Regions from separate parts of the Homo sapiens genome. Here all the other regions are linked to region 2. Evidence: promoter capture Hi-C in 16 types of primary human blood cells and fetal thymus (Javierre and others, 2016). All regions are on one chromosome and are shown on one strand. Each heading gives the region's core, a stretch centred on a gene start or on the middle of the fragment in contact. The rest is flanking DNA. Distances are from core to core; before and after follow the strand shown. Region 1 has its middle 86 kb from the start of SELENOP. Region 2 holds the start of CCL28 (C-C motif chemokine ligand 28). Region 3 has its middle 69 kb from the start of SELENOP.

Region 1 (2,700 bases), core at 34-2,533, 510 kb before region 2:
GGAATAGGCTTCAGTTGTCATGTATAAAGAACTATGAATTCTGAGTTAACCTAAAAGTAAAGCTCCTTAGCATATTCTTGATTGCATAAAGATAGTTTTTATAATTGTGAAAACTTTAAGGCACTTTGGAGAGGAAGCACTAAATAAAGAATGATCTCCATCACAGAGGGCACAGTTTCAAGGAAGTTCACAATAAAAAAAAAAAGTCAATTTTGTTCCCACTTATAAGTGGGAGCTGGATGATGAGAACACAAGAACATATAGAGGGGAAAAACAGACACTGGAGCCTATCGGAGGGTGGATGGTAAATGGAGAGAGAGGCAGGAAAAATAACTAATGGGTACTAGGCTCCGTACTTGAGTGATTGATATGGTTTGGCTGTGTCCCCACCCAAATCTCATCTTGAATTGTAGCTCCCATAATCCCCTTGTGTGTTGGGAGGGACCAAGTGGGAAGTAATAGAACCATGGGGCCGTTTTTCCCATGCCGTTCTCATGATAGTGAATAAGTCTCATGAGATCTGATGGTCTTACAAAGGGCAGTTCCCCTGCACATGCTCTGTTGCATGGTGCTATGTAAGACGTGCCTTTGCTCCTCCTTTCCCTTCTGCCATGATTGTGAGGCCCCTCCAGCCATATGGAACTGTGAGTCCATTAAGCCTCTTTTACTTTATAAATGACCCAGTATTTCTCCTAGCAGTATGAAAATGGCCTAACACAGTGATGAAATACTGCATACAGCAAACCCCCATGACACATGTTCACCTAAACAACGATCCCACACATGTACCCTGACTTAATGCCAACATCTAGTTTCTTTCAAAGTAATTGAAAATTCTTTCAAAGAATTTCTTTCAAAGAAATTGTTAAATTTTCACATAAATACTAGAATGTTCAAAATTAGTCATTTCAAACAACACTAATTTCAGATGATCCCTTTTATTTAGATGTCTTGCAACTATTTCTCTTTATCTAAAATTGCATAGTCTTATATCTGCCTGTTTTTTAATAATTGTACTTAAAATATAGTTACATTTTTAAAATAAATATAACTTGGAGAGACCCGAGGTACTTGATATTGTCTACACACATTCATTATCAATTCTTTACAAATTCTGCAGCCACCATCAGAATTCTTAGGCTTCCTCTTTTGGAAGCTGTCAATTCTTCAATATTAACATGTAATTTATGTATGACCCATTCCAGTGCTTCTCAGCCTTTATTAGCATTTGAAGATACTGTTCTTGCCACCGGTTTTTTCAAGGTATCTGCTGAGGCTCCTTCCTTTCACTACTTACAGCTTCTTGAGGCAAACTAGTTTTTTTCTGTGTCCTGATGATGTGGTTTGTGTATATCTCTCATCTACTAAAACCATATTTGTAAATGAAATATTCGTAGATTTAAGTTCCATTGTTTTCTCTATAGGATTAACTACAGAATATTCTAGTACATGTTTTGGTTCTTGCTGTACCAATAAGAGACTTCACAATGGAAGGCAGTTCCTACTCTTGGTGGAGAAGTCTGTGGTTGTGCAACTCTCCAGAGGGATCTATGTCTGTCCAGTACACCAACCCCAGCCATGCTCATGTTCATAGGGTTTGGGCATTTGTGCATTCCAATTGTTGTAACAGTTTCCTATGAGTGGTCAAAGTCATGCTCTGAAGTCCAGATTATGATGGAGCAGGCAGCCTTAGAGATGTCGGGGCAGTGCAGGATAAATGAGACAAAGAGGCTACACCTGCCCCACCTGACTCCCAGCATCCCAGCCAGCTTCACTGTGTGCCATCAACCCCACGTGAAGGGCATCCCAACCTCCTCCTTCACCACTTATTATTATACGATGTAACTTATAAACAATTTAAAGCAGGGGTCTCAATCCCCCAGAAACAGACTAATACCAGCCTGTGGACTAATAGGAACCAGGCCACACAGGAGGAGGTGAGCAGCAGGCAAGAAAGCATTACTGCCTGGGCTCTGCCTCCTGTCAGATCAACTATGGCATTAGATTCTCATAGGAGCACCAACCTTAATGTGAACTGGCACTGCAAGGGATCTACCTTGCATGCTCCTCATAAGAATCTAATGCCTGAAGATCTGAGGTGGAACAGTTTCATCATAAAACATCCCCCCAACCCTTACCAGCCATCCATGGAAAAATTGCCTTCCACGCAACAAATCCCTGGTGCCAGAAAGGTTGGGGAGCTCGATTTAAAGAACATTATTAATGTCTGTTTCCTGCCTTCATCTGGGAGGTCACAGTCAGCTTCGAAACTCCAGCAAGTGATCCACCCAGCTGTCCCCTCCCACCTTGTTAGTATCCACAGCTCCTGAAAGGCCCCCTGGGATTTAGACTAAAGCATGATCGTACCATTGCATGCCAGCCTGGGCAAAAAAGTGAGACCCCACCTCAAAAGAAAAAAAAAAAAGGAAAAAGAAGAAGGAAAAAAAAGCTCTGAGTTGGATCCCTGCCCCCTTTCTGTCAGCTTTGGGCCCATCTATACCAATCTTGATTTACCGGTCTTGATTTCACAGGTGGAAAATAAGGAAAAGGCTTTAAACAATGTGTATAATTTCAATAAAAGAACCATCACAATTTTAAGCAGATCTAAAAGAAGGGTTCCTTAGCACACTGCATATTATTCATTCCATGAAGAGAGTTTTTCTAAATGAAAAATGTTCAGGACGTTCAGGAGAGGAAGAA
Region 2 (2,700 bases), core at 161-2,660:
CGGACTATATTGGGAGTCCCTAAGCAAATGCCTGCAGGGACCAGGCAGTTAATACAGCAAACTTCAGAGGCTCATCTGCTTTAGCCAGTTCTTGCCATGGTATGGTGGAATCATTGTTGCCACATCTGATTTCTCAAGAGAAGCTTTAAAATCCAATTTGTATGTGTGTATGTATGAGTATGTACATGAGAAAGCTTTCAGTTTTAAAATGTTGGCTCAGATTTTTAAAAAGCAGACCAAAGACTTATATTCCACCTCTGCTCTAGACTTAGAGAATCTGTTCAGGATAAAGCTTAAAGAAAAGATGACAATGGAAAAGAGTCATTGGTCAAGTATTAAGTACTGACACTTAGGGTTTCCTGAATATAGTAGTGAGTGCTACTTTAGAAGAGATTCCCTCTAGTTCAAATGCAGTTACAATCTCCAAATACATGCTAGCAACTCACGATTTAAATTCTCTTTGACATAATTTGTATGGTTCAATCTCCCTCATCCTGCTTTTCTTCTTTTTCTTTCTTTCCTTTCCTTTCTTCCTTTCCTTCTCTTTCCCCTCCCCTCCCCTCTTTTTGTTTTTAACAGATGGGGTTTTACTATGTTGCCCAAGCTGGAGTGCAGTGGCAATTCAGAGTGCAGTGGCAATTCACAGTGTGATCATAGCTCACTGCAATCTTGAATTCCTGGCCTGAAGCTATCCTCCAGCCGTAGCCTCCCAAGTAGGTGGGAATACAGGCATGCACCACTGTGCTCAGCTCTGCCCTCCCTTTTTAAAGGTCAGACTGAAGTTTCAGTTTTCTGTATCCATAGAGCTGACTTTGCTCAGGAAATTTACAACTTACCTAATTTGAACGCAGCTGGCCAAGTCTGTATTTCCCTCCAGGAATGTGCACAGTTGTGTTCAGACCGTTTAGCAGGTTGGGGTGTGGAGGAAGACAGATGAATAGTAGGGGCTTTACTCCAGCCTCTAGCTGGGGATTTTCTAAGATACTGTCTTCAGAAAAGGAAACATAGCTCGAAGTTGTACCTACATGGAAGGACCTCATCCTCCAGGTGGCAAAAATTTGTAGTATGCCTGTTAGAATGAGGTTCCTTCCTGAAACTTCTGGGAGATCTAGAATTTAAAGCTATGTCATTCTCTTGTAGGTAATCAGAAATCAATTGGAAATTCCTGCTTGAAGAGATAGATATTCTTGCCCCACCTCAATCCTTCCAGCACAGATTTGGGAGATACCCCCCTTTCCAGTGAAGGCCTAAGTGTCCAGTGCCCCCACTCACCTTCTGAGGCATGTAGGGCCGCACAGACAGCCAAGGCCACGATGGCGAGTCCTCTCTGCTGCATTCCTGCCTGCCCTACTGGCACTGACAGCAACACAAGTGAGGCTGTTCGATCAGGAAATGAGGCTAAAGGTGTCCTTGGGCACAGAGAAAGTGCAGAGGAAAAGTAAGCCAGGTGGCCCCGCCCTGGGAGGTGTTCAGGGTATCTATTTCTCATGTTTCTTTCCTTAAGACCAGGCTCCTCCTCGACTTATTAAGCTCCTAACTTGTGTTCATCCTGCCTGGGGGTCAGGGGATGTCAATGGAGATCTGGCAGCTGGCAGGGTCACTGTGAGGTGGGGTGTGCATCAGAATCATTTGGGGAACATTAAAAAAAATCAATCTAAATGACTCTCCCCTTTCCCTGATTTGTAAACCAGAACTCCCAGGTAGGAGACCAGTCATTTGAATTTTGTAAAAGCTCTATAGGTGATTCTGATGGACACTTATGTTGAGACCCATTGCATAATCAGTTTTTAAGTAGCTTATGGAAACCATGAGTTTCTGGGGACAAGGGTGACAAGTCATAAAAAATGTATCTTTGTGGAAAGATATGGAAGTATTAAACCCCACTTTAGTCTTGGTTCACAGCCAAATTGTTTCCAGTGAAGCTTTTTACAATAGCTTATTTAGGAGAAAGACAGGAAGGGGGGCAATGCCTTGTAGAAAAGAGCCCAAGAGCAGGTGTGAAGAGGCATGAGCGCTAGTGCAGCTTTGCTGCCAATCAGCTTTGTGAATAAAAGCATGGGGTAGCATGAAGATAATTGGATTCTAATTGTTCCTCATCTACTAATAAGTTGTATAACCTCAGGCAACGTACTTAACTTTGCTGTAAATAACAAGTCAGACTAGATGACCTCCAAAGTCATGCCATGCTTCCTCTAGAACTGTGTTGTCCTATGTGGTAGCCGCTAGCCCACATGTGGCTCTTGAGCACTTGAAATATGAGTAGTCCAAACTCAGATGTACTATGGGTATAAAATTCACACTGGATTTCAAAGACTGGGTACAGAAAAAAATATAAAATATCTTGTTAATAATGTTTATACTGTTTATTGATTACATGATAGTATTTTGGACTTTTTGGGTTAAATAAAATATATTATTAAAATTAATTTCACCCATTTCTTTTTATGTTTTCAAATTACTGCTGTGGTTTGAATATTTTTTTCTTCTCCAAAGCTCATGTTGAAAATTAATCCCTAATAGTGCTGGGAGATAGGGCCTAATGGACAATGTTTAGGTTATGATGGCTCCACCCTCATGAATGGATGAATGCTACTATAAAAAGGGCTTGTGGGAATGGGTTGGTACCTTCTGCTCTTCTGCCAGGTGAGTACACAATGCTCCTTCTCTCCAAAAGATGCAGCAAAGTGGCATCATCTTGGA
Region 3 (2,700 bases), core at 21-2,520, 530 kb before region 2:
CTTATATTTTTTACCTTAACTTTTTAATATATATTGAGTCACTATAAGCTTATAGTTATAATTCTGCCAATTTCCTTGAGAATTGTGTTTTCAGTTAAGTTCCCAAACAAACAAGTGTTTTAACAGACACTTGGGCTAAGAGATTGGCTAGTAGTTCTTTTTGTAAGTTGAGAATTTTAATGAGGTTAAAATATAAATTTAAAACTGTTTCATCTCTGCATGAATAAATGGACTTACTCTTCCACCATTTTATAGTGATGGTAAACAATGATAGCATGTTGATTTATTCAGAATTTGTAGTGTAAATTTCTACTGCGTAAAGTATACACACAATTTGTAAAAATTAAGGATAAAGAGGACTAATGGAGTAGCCATCTTCCTTCCCCTCCTCCTATATGCCCAAAGTAATTTAGAGTTGATTTGAAGCCACTTCTCTAGCAATTGGACTTGCATAGAATCGTGGGGGTTCACACATCACCAGCCCAGGAAACTTCAGGCTGTCCTTTGTTACTCTGTTTACTGAAATTGACATATCAGCAAGTTCAAAATTATCCTGAATAGTAGTTTTGGCATGTTCTACCTCTGGACCAGTGATAACTGTAGTCAGTGTATAATCCTTCCTGTTCAAATGGCCACACAGATTTCCTTAATGGCTTGACCTGCCAAGAGCTGGAGGCCTTAATCATCCCAGGAAAGAGGATGCCAAATACGGAGGATTTTAATTACTCTCATTTTCTTGGAGGAAAATCTCTTACAATCTTTGAAATATATTGCTTAGAACATTCCATATCTGAAAAGTAATGTTTTCTGTTAGCATCTATTGTGCAATTGGCTATAATGTGTTTACTTAAGAAAATATGGAGATGGCTTTTAACTAATTCAAAAACACAGTAAGACAGGGTATGTACACAATATTACATTTACTTAGTATGACAGTAAAGAATCCTTGTTCCCTTTTCTGGGACTTTGAGTTTAGCTCAACAAGATGGTTGCTACATAACTGTTTGAAATATTGATGCCATATAATTTTTAAAAATAGTTTTAAAGGGTGATTTGTTTTGTATTTCCTTGAACTCAAACCCTGAGACAAGGACTAGGTGCAAGCAGTTTATTTAAAAAGATCTACTAGGGAACCAGGTCAAGGGAGCTTGGAGAGGGACATGAGGAAGCAGGGAGAGCTCATGTAAGGATGCATTACTGAGGTCCCTGCCATCAGCAATGGAGATTCAATTCTGCTGGGACTTCTGAGTGGTGTACAGACTTTCTCTGAATGGTTCACCTGAAAGATGGAAGGCGGAGCAAATACTCCAACACCATTCTCCCAAGGGTTGGTCTCAAGGGCTTTAACCCCTGGCACTTCTGATCTGCTCTTGCACAAGCCAAAGATGTTCCCAGGGCCTGGGAGATGGCCTGGGGCAGAATGTGGAAAGACAAAAAGCAGGAGCCTCTTTTATTTTATATTTTATTTTGTGATAAGAGCATTTAGGATCTATGCTCTTAGAAAATTAGGTATTCAATACAGTATCTTTAACTACAGGTGCTATGCTGTACAGTAGGTCTCTAGGACTTATTTATCTTATATAACTGAAATTGTGTGCCCTTTGACCAACATCTTCCCTCTAGCGGACAGCTTGACTGCAAACTCATGACAGAATGTGGCCAAAACTACCCAGCTAAGCCACTCAGGTATTCCTGACACTGAGAAACTATAGGATATAATAGATTTTTTGTTGTTTTACGCTGTTGAGGGTAATTTATTTTGCAGCAATTGATAACCAATAGACTGTCCATATAAAGTAGAATATTGTGTGGTAATAAAATATCAGATTTTCAAAGAATTTTTGAGGATATGAAAAAGTGATGAGTATACAACATTAAGTGAAAACAGCAGGAAGCAGAACTATGTAGTGCGTGTTAATCACATCTGTTATTTTCTTCTGATCAGCAGATGTCTTTCCCCTCCTTCTTCTGCTAATAGAACTTCCCTTTCCTATGGGAAAAACATCTCACGTGTTTCAAGTGGTGCTTTGACTCCAACCCACATAGGTCAAAAACGTTAATTAGATTAAATTAAGGTAACTCATTTCCTTGGTACATCATGAAAGACAGGCTAATGAAAACAAGTCCTGGACCTTTTCTTCCTAGAACTTGGTTAAGGAAAAGAAAGGCCTTAACTCCCAAATAAAGATGGTGAAGATATCAGACACCCTAGGTTGAGTAGTTATTAAAGTCAGAACCAGCTTTAGACTTCTCAGTCATAAGCCAATAAACTCTGTTTGCTTAAGCTAATTGGGCTTGGGGTTCTGCCTGAATACAAATACAATATACAATATCATCCCATAATTGTATATAAAATGAATAAATAAAATTATTCACAAAGAATAATTTGGGGTAAATCTACCAAACGTTATCACTAGTTCTAGCTAGATTTCATATTATTGAACTTGCCATATCAGAAATTTTTAAAACAAAACTTCTTAGCCCTCACAGTTGGAAGCTTTGACTCAGTAGTTCTGGATTACAGACTAGATCTTTTATTGAATATTTCTATGTGTTTGTGAGTTTTCCAAAATTTCTCTTGATTTCTAGTTTTATATCATTCTGTTCAAAAAAGATATTTGATATGATTTCAATCTTCTTAAATTTGTTAAGACATATTTTGTGGCATATATGATTACATATTATCTGTCCTGGAGAATG

What was found. Contacts are between HindIII fragments. The CHiCAGO score rates a contact against its expected background, and 5 or more counts as called.
Region 1: a contact is called between a fragment that was not itself captured here and the fragment with the promoter of CCL28 in region 2, in 1 of 17 cell types (naive CD4 T cells). The highest score is 6.5, in naive CD4 T cells.
Region 3: a contact is called between a fragment that was not itself captured here and the fragment with the promoter of CCL28 in region 2, in 4 of 17 cell types (naive CD4 T cells, activated CD4 T cells, non-activated CD4 T cells and 1 more). The highest score is 6.3, in naive CD4 T cells.

Annotation. Positions count from the first base shown.
Region 1 is chr5:42,896,161-42,898,860 of GRCh38, forward strand. It overlaps the pseudogene PRELID3BP4. Among named protein-coding and RNA genes, the nearest start is that of SELENOP, 86 kb to the left of the region's middle. The HindIII fragment of the contact is 4,195 bases long and covers 1-2,700 here.
Region 2 is chr5:43,410,981-43,413,680 of GRCh38, forward strand. It overlaps CCL28 (C-C motif chemokine ligand 28), which reads right to left and starts at 1,411. Exons shown (of 3, transcript NM_148672.3): 1 at 1,273-1,411. The coding sequence starts at 1,336. The HindIII fragment of the contact is 1,630 bases long and covers 291-1,920 here.
Region 3 is chr5:42,880,001-42,882,700 of GRCh38, forward strand. No RefSeq gene overlaps it. Among named protein-coding and RNA genes, the nearest start is that of SELENOP, 69 kb to the left of the region's middle. The HindIII fragment of the contact is 2,449 bases long and covers 47-2,495 here.